Linked DNA regions of Homo sapiens: region 2 is linked to region 1. The links are contacts of gene promoters, found by promoter capture Hi-C in blood cells and fetal thymus (Javierre and others, 2016). All regions are on one chromosome and are shown on one strand. Each heading gives the region's core, a stretch centred on a gene start or on the middle of the fragment in contact. The rest is flanking DNA. Distances are from core to core; before and after follow the strand shown.

What was found. Contacts are between HindIII fragments. The CHiCAGO score rates a contact against its expected background, and 5 or more counts as called.
Region 2: a contact is called between a fragment that was not itself captured here and the fragment with the promoter of MAB21L1 in region 1, in 1 of 17 cell types (megakaryocytes). The highest score is 6.1, in megakaryocytes.

Annotation. Positions count from the first base shown.
Region 1 is chr13:35,474,751-35,479,753 of GRCh38, reverse strand. It overlaps MAB21L1 (mab-21 like 1), which reads left to right and starts at 3,065. Exons shown (of 1, transcript NM_005584.5): 1 at 3,065-5,003. The coding sequence starts at 3,616. The coding sequence ends at 4,695. All of the region lies in intron 41 of NBEA (neurobeachin), which reads right to left. RefSeq lists enhancers at 183-979, 3,493-4,489. The HindIII fragment of the contact is 3,631 bases long and covers 2,166-5,003 here.
Region 2 is chr13:35,215,324-35,220,990 of GRCh38, reverse strand. All of the region lies in intron 33 of NBEA (neurobeachin), which reads right to left. Among named protein-coding and RNA genes, the nearest start is that of MAB21L1, 260 kb to the left of the region's middle. The HindIII fragment of the contact is 420 bases long and covers 1,496-1,915 here.

The DNA of each region.
Region 1 (5,003 bases), core at 1,816-4,315:
ATTGCAAGACTGGTATAACTGGAGTTTTTTAAAAAAACTTTTCACATTAATACATAAATGTATATTAAGCCATCTCTATGTACTACATAATCATTTGACATAACTAGTTTAATAGGTCAAATGATATTTTTTTAAAATTCACTGAAAAATAGTTAAATATATTACTCCCATAAAATAAATATATCCCCCAAGCCTAGATTAAAATCGGCTGAACTGCACAAAAATGTACTGTTATTTGCAATCCCTCTCTATAGGTCATTTCCATAAAAAAATTTCGGGGATGGAAAACACGCTTCTCCGAATAGCTTAATTCTCGCTTCAACAATGAGGGGCGTCTACGATCACTGAAAGGATTCAGCTACAGAAGGCAATTCATTTCACGTGTTCAGTGTAATAGAAAATCACTGTGTTGCAGCAACAAGCAGTACTTGCACTAGAGTATTATTCATTCCAGGGCGCCCAGTTCACCCACAGTGATAATCGCGGACCGGTGAATCCTATGTTATGTAAATCACCTTCAGCTCCTTGTGTGAGGGGTGCTTAAGGAAGCAGCTTAGAAAACACAGTCCTGGCGTCCTTTAAACTAAATGACTTCACTTTCCTGAACACTCTAGATCTAATGAGTTTCCTAGTATACCTTTTCTCACCATCCATTTTTCTTTCTCAAAGTGCAAATCGTTAGTGAAAAGGCGCTGGTTGCACCAATTAGTTTGCACAAAGTGCTTCGGTGTTTAGCTTCGCTTTAACCCAATTAAGCTGCACAGTGAGCCCCGAAGATGCGCCACCTGCGCGCCTGGCTCCAGCCAGGCCCGACCGGCATCCCTCGCAGGCCCGCGTCCTTCCCGTTGGACCCACTTAAGGTCCCCCGAACAGCCCTGGGGCCTCCCCGTCCTCGGCTGTCTCACGTCCTTGACAACCAAGGGTGTTCTGCAGGTGGCCCAAGAAGGCAAGGGGCGAGGTCTTGGGGCAAGCATCTCTGGCCTGAACCCAAGGGAGAGAGCGCAGGGCGCAGGGGCCCGCGGCTGGGGCTTGGCTGCGACCACACCTGGGCCGGACGTGGGCGGTGCAGGCTGAGGGGTGCGTGGGCAGACCGTGGTCTGGAGCAGACGTGGAGAGTAAGCCGGGACACCAAGTAAGGTTTTCAAATAAGCTCACGCAGAAATAAAGCGTAGCGATCTTGAGCCCAGAGAGGAAAGTAAGAGGGCACGGGAATGCGGAGCAGCGAGAGAGAGGCGGCGAGCGGACGGCACAGGGCCACACGCGCCGGGTGAGGGCAGAAGGCGGCGTTTCCCCAGAGACCACTGCACATCCTCGCCGTCGTGGCTGCAGGTTCTCCGGCTCTGATGGGTCTCCCCTCCAACTGCCAAAAGGTAGTGGTGCATTCACCCGCGATGACGGCAAAGTGGGGAGGGGTTTTTTGGGTGTTCCCAGACCCTGCTCTTAAGGGGATGGAAGGTTCTTGGGAAATAGAGTAGCTGGGTGCCACGCACCCCAATGTATACTATTTTCAGCTAAATTGGAATCTATCACTGTTGGATAAGGAGAAATTAAATAATAGGTGGTTTTGTGATGCTGTGCCTGTGCAAAACAAAACACACAAACAAAAATCAAAAGCTTAAGTAGCAAGTGGGAGCCCTGAAGAATATCTTGTTAAAAGTGACTCTGAAAGTGTCTACAAACATGTTACCGGGAGTTATAGGATTTGACGGGAAATATTCTTAATTGGAAAGACGTGGCATCTAAATTAAAGGTAGACAATTAAAAAAATCCACCTAGTTTTAAAAACCACAACGTAACCACTAAGTAGTATTTCTTTAGTTTCCTGTACTTTGAGGACACAACTGGACCACCAACTAGAAAAAAAAATTCCTCCTCCTGTTTCCAGGTTCCAAAATTCAGAAATGAAATGATTTATTTCATTTTTGTTTTCAAAATGATGTTTAAATCCAAAAAACCCCCCAGATAACTGCAAGTTAATTTTCTTTGCAAATGTTAACCATTTTCCCTTAATTAAATCACACGAAATAGTATAAAATTAGAAGTCTACTGCCAGGTCACCACTTAAGGACACTTAAGACAGGAGATATATCCTTAATTATACATCTGTAAACAAGCCAGATACCCCAAACCTTCAATTTTTCGGGATAGTTATCTGTGAGGAAGCTTGATCTCTATGATCTCACCTGAATTTTATGTACTAAAATACAGGTCACTATGAAATAACGCTAAAGTACTCTGTCCATCCCACAGACAATTTATTTTTCAAATGTTTCTATAAGTGCATATATAGCGTTGTGTCCTGCTTGTAATGCTGGGCAAGTCCACCAAAGTGCAAAGACTGCATCTGCTGGGGCAGAGGGATGTACGAAATATTTTTTAAATATCCTAACTTAAACAGGGGTAGAACATCTCACACACTCAGCAATAATTTTCAGATTCAACAAATGGAGAAAAGAAAAAAACATAAGTAAAAAAAGAGCATACTACCTCCATAACGTTTCAAAAAATCATTTTAACATATAGGAACATCCAGAATGAGAAAATTACACAGGTACTCCTCCATCTAAAGCCAACTTCCATATGCCAGTAGTCTGCATGAAAGAACAAACTTTCAACCTGCATTTAAGAAGACCCCAAGGATTAACAGACGTTAATTATCTTACTCTAAATGCAAGTTAGTGATTTTGTTTTAGAAAACCCCGTCAAGATCACTAATTGATGGATGCCCATTAATACACCTGTATTTGCATTTCAGCGGTAAAAGACAAGCAGGTTTTCGGCACAGAAGAGAGCCGCTTTGCCAAGTCTTTTCAAAACGTCAATATGCTTCAAGTAATACCAAAGCTGAGAGATTCCTCTTGATTTCCAAACTGTCTAGGTGGCCTGAGTGGTTTTCCGCCGGCAGCAGCCTCCTACCTTTAGTTTGTGTGCCTATATCCATGAGTGGGGATTAATTAGCCGGGTTGGAGCTGAAGGAGGCTGTCGTGACGAGCCCAGTGGCGATTGGCCGCCCGCCTGCCTGGCCCTGCCTTTATAATTTCCACACGAGTGCATCTGGGCTCTTAGACAAACCAACAGCAGCTTCTTCTGACATATACACACGCACACTCACCCCGGACACACACTCAGCACACTTTTCCTCCATTTGATTAACAGTGCTGCACACACAATGATTACGGGAAAGCGCAAATAAATACGGAAAGGGGTGCTTATTTTGACTACTGGAAGAGCTTTGCTGGGTCTCAGCGCAACTTTTGTTTTTTATTCCTGAGAAGGTGATCTCTCCATGCGGTTCTCTCACACAAGGATTCTTTAAAAGAGGAAGAGAGACAAGCAGAGGGGGGAGGACAGTCTTTCACTTTAAGAACGGCTGGGCTCAAAGATAAAAGGAAGGGAAAAGCAGCAGCAGCAGCAGCAGCAGCAGCAGCAGCAGCAGCAGCAGCAGCAGCAGCAGCAGGGAAACCAACGCTGCAGCACTTCCGAAAGGCATTTTTGATCCATTTCTGAGTGTTGCGGCCCGTTTCTCCACCGAAGTTGGCTCCAGCTCTAGCAGCCGCATTGGATCCCACAGCTTACTGCGAGACTCCGGTGTACAATCCGGATCTCTGCCCCAACATGATTGCGGCCCAGGCCAAGCTGGTCTACCATCTGAATAAATACTACAACGAAAAATGCCAAGCCAGGAAAGCTGCCATTGCCAAAACTATCCGGGAAGTCTGCAAAGTAGTTTCCGACGTACTGAAGGAAGTGGAAGTGCAGGAGCCGCGGTTCATCAGCTCTCTCAACGAGATGGACAATCGCTACGAGGGCCTCGAGGTCATCTCCCCCACCGAATTTGAAGTGGTGCTTTATCTCAACCAAATGGGGGTGTTCAACTTCGTGGACGATGGCTCACTGCCCGGCTGCGCGGTGCTGAAGTTGAGCGACGGGCGCAAGAGGAGCATGTCCCTCTGGGTGGAATTCATTACCGCCTCCGGCTACCTCTCGGCGCGCAAAATCCGGTCCAGGTTTCAGACGCTGGTGGCTCAAGCGGTAGACAAATGTAGCTACCGGGATGTGGTAAAGATGGTGGCAGACACCAGCGAAGTGAAACTGAGAATCCGAGATAGGTACGTGGTGCAGATCACGCCGGCCTTTAAATGCACCGGGATCTGGCCGAGGAGTGCTGCCCACTGGCCACTTCCCCACATCCCCTGGCCGGGACCCAACCGGGTGGCGGAGGTCAAGGCGGAAGGTTTCAATCTCTTGTCCAAGGAGTGCCACTCCTTGGCCGGCAAGCAGAGCTCGGCGGAGAGCGACGCCTGGGTGCTGCAGTTCGCGGAGGCAGAGAACAGACTGCAGATGGGGGGCTGCAGAAAGAAGTGCCTCTCCATCCTCAAAACCTTAAGGGATCGTCACCTTGAACTGCCGGGCCAGCCCTTGAACAATTACCATATGAAGACTCTGGTTTCCTACGAGTGTGAAAAGCATCCCCGAGAGTCGGACTGGGACGAGTCTTGCCTGGGTGATCGGCTGAACGGGATTTTGCTGCAACTTATCTCCTGCCTGCAGTGCCGGCGGTGTCCCCACTACTTTCTACCGAACTTAGATCTGTTTCAAGGCAAACCTCACTCAGCTCTGGAAAACGCTGCCAAACAAACGTGGCGACTGGCAAGAGAGATCCTGACCAACCCGAAAAGTTTGGAAAAACTTTAGAGGATGATTTAATCAAGAGCCGAAATTATTACCCTTCTCAAAGTCCTTATTAAGTGTAAACTTCTGTTCAATTCCTAATATTCCACTCCGCAGTGCAAACAATCTCTTCCTTTAAAAAGGAATAATAATACAATATTTAAACATCATCTCACCCACCCCCACAAGGGGAGAAAAAGTAGGGGAAGCGGATGGAGAAAAACCCAAAGCCACTAGTATTAGAAGACTTCTTTCCACACGATTTCCTATCTCCCTTGAAAAGTACACCGTAACACTCCGTAAACAGCCCAGCTGTAACGCCAGACCGAGAC
Region 2 (5,667 bases), core at 456-2,955, 260 kb after region 1:
AGACTGGACACAGCTAAAGAGATAATTAGTAAAGTAGACTATAGGTTAAAAGAAAATACTCAAAATCACTGAGAGAGAAATAGGCATAGGGGGAAAGGATATAGATAGGTAAGAAATGTATTTTTAAAAAGTCTAATTTTTATGTAAGATAAGCTCTAACAGAAGGATAAAATGGGTCAGAAGCAATACCTGAAGAGGTAATGGCTAGGAAGTTTCAAAATTGAATGAAAGTGATAAAACTTCAGATTTGAAAAACTCTACAAATCTTAAGCAGGATAAATACAAAGAAAATCCACAGCGCCTGAAAACATCATAGTAAAACTTATCAACTCCCAAAATACAGAACACCTTTAAAACAGACATCAGGTGGGTTGGAGTGGAGAACAGAAACAATATGACTAGGAATTAACCTATAAAATAAATAAATAAAACACAGAATGAAAAAAGCCAAAAGACAATAAAATGATATTTTCAAAGCACTATAAGAAAATAATTGCCAACCTAGAATTCTATTGGTTCAAAATATCCTTTCAAACATCGAGGTGGATTTCCAAGATGTTTAGAGAAATAGGAACTAAAAATTCATGACAGGCAAACCTGCACTAAATCAAATACTAAGAAGCGTTCTTTCAGAAGAAGAAATATGATACTAGGTGGAGGTCAGACATTCAGAAAAGAATGATGAGCAACAAAAAATGATAGTCATTTGGCTAAATCAAAACAGATGTTGACCAATAAAATAAGTATACTTTCTTGCAGGGTGTGAATTTAAGATGAACATGCACACATGCATACATATGTACATGTATGTCTGCAAAATTTGGGGTAAATTAAGTTAAACTAGAGTAAGGAAGGGCCATGCATTGTCTGGGAATAGGACCTCGATAAATCAAGGATAACTCCTGCGATGTGGAGGATTATCAATTACACACTGTTTCTCAAAGTGTGTATTCTGGACCAGCAGCATCAGCATGATCTAGCATCGTGGTTAATTTTATGGGTCAATTTTACTGGGTGTCCAGATATTTGATTAAACAGCACTCTGGGTATGACTGTGAGGGTATCTATTGATAAGATTAACATTTGAATAGGTAGACTGCCCTCCTTCATGGAAGAAGGCTTCATCTAGTCAGTTGAAGATATGAATAGAACAAAAAAGTTGAGCAAACTCCTTCTGCCTGAATGTTTGAGCTAGGAGTACTGGTCTCTTCTTGGCCTTTGGACTCAGACGGAAACATCGGCTCTTCTTCAGTCTTGAGCCAGCCAGCTTTTGGATAGGAACTTGTATCACTGGCTCTCTTGGTTCTCCGACCTTGGTACTTTGATTAGAACTACACATTGGTTCTCCTGGGTCTTTAGCATACTAACTGCAGATACTGGGAATTTTCAGTTTCCATAATCATGTGAGCCAAATTTTTATAATAAATCATGTGTATATGCATGTATATTCATATGAATGTAAACATCCTATTTAATCTGTTTCTCTAAATAAGCTTGACTAACACACCTAAAAACTTGTTAGAGGTGCCCTAAATTCTCATGCCCTACTGGAGTCCTACTGAATTAGGTATCCAGCAATCTGTATGTTAACAAGCCCTCTATGTTATTCTGATGCATGCTGATGTTAGAAAACTACTGCACTAAGGAAACAAACAATGTACAACTTTCAACTTAACCGTTTCTTGTTATTTCTCTCTAGACATTTTTTTGGCAATATGAATAAAACTGATTAATCACTGCCAGAGCTTATCAAGAAAAGGAAGGAAGGCAAGGAAGGCAAGGAAGGCAAGGCAGGAAGGCAGGAAGGCAGACAAGCTGGCTAGCTTAAATAAAGAATATCAAGATTAAAAAGAAGGGACATTACTACAGATTATATGAATGTTAAAAGAATAACACAATAATATTATGAAAAGCTTTATGCCAGCAAAAACCTAACAAAGCTGACACCAGAAAAAAATAGAAAATTTTGGGAGATCTGTAACTAATTAAATTGAAATTTTAATTAAGAAACTTTCCTAAAAGAAGAGATCCAGGATTAGGTGTCTTTGCTTGTGAAGTTTACTAAATATTTCAGGGGAAAAAATAAAAAAATAATCTTATAGAAGCTTTCAAGAGATAAATCTATTTCACATTACAATGAAATTGGATTTCTTACAGAAATTGAGAATTCTTTTAGCATTTAAAAATTAAATCAATATAGTATACCATGTTAACAGAAGGAGAAAAACCACATGATCATCTTAGTGTATATTTAAAAAGCATAAGATAAACTTCAACATACGTCATGATAGCAAGTTTTTGTTAATTACAAATATAAGAGATGTATAACATTTATTGAAAATTATATATAATTAATAGGTAAGAAGCATCATAGTTAATGATAAATGTTCAATGTTTTTCATCTGAGATGAAGAATTTAAAAAGAATGCCTGCTATAACCATGACTATAATAAATTGCATTAGAGGTACTGGGTGGCACTGTAAGTTCAGAAAAAGAAATTAAAAGGTGCAAGGATTTTAATGGGAGAAAAAACTCCCCCATTATTCGTGGATGACAGAATTATGTATATACATATACATTTTGAAACAATCTATAGAAAAATAATTAGGAATAATAAGTGAGTTAACATTTCAGGATATTCTGTCAACATACTGAAAGGGAAACAATTAAAAGAATTAAAATTTATAAAAGAAATCATTGACAACATGATAAGAATATAAAATTCATTTGTAGCCTTGAAAAAGTAAGATGGTCTAAAATTACCTTCCATGCTAACAGTTAAAAATATTAGACAAATACAGGGAACAACTATTTTCAGGCAATACAGGGAGTACAGGACTATGAACCCTAAGGACAGGGAAACCAATGAGGTGAGCTCCCCCATCATCCATGTTTCCTTTATGGAGGTATTTCCTATATTATGGCAAATACTGAGTCCTGCAATGTTTTTGAGTTGACACGACTGAGACTGTAGTTCAAAACGGCCAAGGTGAATAGAATTTGCAGAACAGAGTCCCTGAGAGGAGGAAGCTATGAAGAAAAAAATTTCCCAAAACCTGAGTCTTAGGCTGAATAGCAATCTACTTATGTGAAGCCTGAAAGCTCCAAGGGCTAGAATAGAATAATTTTTTGAAAAGAATAATTATGAAGGAGCTGCAACACAAACATCACTGAGAGTGCATAGTGCTGGGAATAGTCTGTATTCCCTCCAGCCAGAAAGGAGAGATCTCATTAAATACACTGAGCATTCAGGAGAAATTCTAGCAAGTCTACCCTTTCTAAGTGTGGCAAAAGCAATCCAAGAAGAGAGGCCTCTCTAAATTTGCCTTAAAAGGTCTTAAAAACATGCCTCATGGGCAAGGATAGCCTTTTCAACAAATGGTGCTGGAACAAATGAACATTCATAGGCAAAAATGTGTACCTCAACCTAAACCTCACACCTTACACAGACATCAGCTCAAAATAGATCACAGACTTAAAAGTAAAACAACTTTTAAACCACAAAACTTTATAGAAAATACAATATAAATTTTGGGAAAGTAGAGGTAGGTGAAGAGCTCTTAGACATGACACCAAAAGCTTAACTATAAAAAGGTAAATCTGACAAGCCAGATTAAAAAAAATTTAAATTTTTCTCTGCTAAAAAACCCATTAAAAGGATGAAACAGGGAGCACGTCTAAGATAAAATATTTGCAAACTAAATTTCTAAAAAAGGACTTGTATTTGAATATAACAAAAACTCTCAGAGTTCAAAAGTTAAACAGTGATCCAATTAAAAAATAGGCAAAAGACATGAACAGACAATTCATGAAGGAGACATATTGATGGAAAATAAACACAAGAAAAGATGTTCTGCATATTTATCCATTAGGAAAATGCAAATTCAGACCACAGTAAGATATCACTACATACTATCAGAATGCTTAAAAAAATGCTGGTAACAATGAGGAGAAACTGGACCACTCACACATTGCCAGTGGAAACATAAAGTGGTTAAGCCACTCTAGAAGACAGTTTTGCAGTTTCTTATAAAACTAATCATATACTTACCATAGAGCAAGTAATCTCACTCTTGGGTACTTATCCCAGAGAAACAAAAATGTATGTTCACATAAAAACAGATGTCCACTGTAACTTTATTTTTAATAGCCCCAAACTGGAAAAAAACTTAAATGTCCTTTAGTAGGTGTATGTTTAAACAAACTGTCATCCGTACCATAGAATATGACTGAGAAATAAAAAAGGAACATACTATTAATTCATGCAACAATTTGAATGGATTGCATGGCAGTATTTTTAGTGAAGGAAGATAAATGTCAAAATGCACCTCTGTAAAGTGTATGAATCCAAGAAGAAATAGGGAAAATTAGAAAAAAATATTGAATTGAATATAAAAAATACTACATTTGTACAATACAGGTAAAACTGTGCTTGGAGGAAAAGTTATGGCTTTAAATGCTCATATACCATATCATTAAACAAGAAAGTTCTAAAATCAAAGATCCAAGAGAGGGGCTGGGAAACATCTGTAAAGGATAAGACAGTAAATATTTTAAGCTTTAGGCCATATCGTCTCTGTTCCAACTATTTAACTCAGTCACAGTAATGTGACAGCAGTGATAGGCAATACATAAGCAAATGAGTGTGGCTGTATTCCAATAACTTTATGTACAAAGCTGGTGGCAGAATGATTTGGCCCATGGTCCACAGTTTATAGACACTCAATCTCAGTTTCCACTCTAAGATATGGGAAGAAAAAAGCAAGCAAACGTGATGTAAATAGAAAGGAGTAATAAGAGCAGAATTCACATAATAGAAAAAAAACACTCTAAAAATATTAATGAACACAGTATCATTTTTGGGGGGAAATCATAATATTGAAAAGCAATAGCTATTCTGATAATGAAAAAATGAGAAAAAACAAAATAACAAAATCTGAAATGAAAGAGGGAACATCATTAGGGATCATGCTTATATTTTAAAATATTAATAATAAAATTTTTAAAATTACAAAGAATTTATGGCAATAAATCCAACAACTTAGATAAGATGGGTAAATTCATTGAAGACAAAAATAACAAAACAGATACAAAAATAAATATACTATCTGGATACTCATTTATCAATTAAAAAAACTAAATCTATAATTTAAATTTTCCCAGAAAGAAAATTCCAGGCAGAAATGGCTGTACTGGTGAATTCTCAAACATTTTAGGATAAATAATACTAAAGCTACAAGTGACATTATCTCATGCATAGAAAATAATAAGGAAACTACAGAAAGTGTTAGATCGATTATGTGAGTTTAGAAAGTTCTAAACAACTTACCACGTTTACTAAAAGTAAGTGGCAAGATTATAAAATATAAAATCAATATATAAAAATCAATGTACTAATACAAAATTATCCCCTTTTTTCAGTTTTATTGAGGTAAAATTGACACAGGCAATCACTGATTTGCTATTTTTTAAGATAAATTAATTTGCATTTCCTATAATTTCATAAAAATGGAATCATACACTATGTACTCTTTTTGGTCTGGCTTCTAACTCCCAATTGGAAATTTACAGCAAAAAATCTAATATAATATCATCAAACACATGAAAATTTAGAAAAACATAAAAATTTAAAAAGACATAAAAATAAGTACAAGAGTTTTACAATG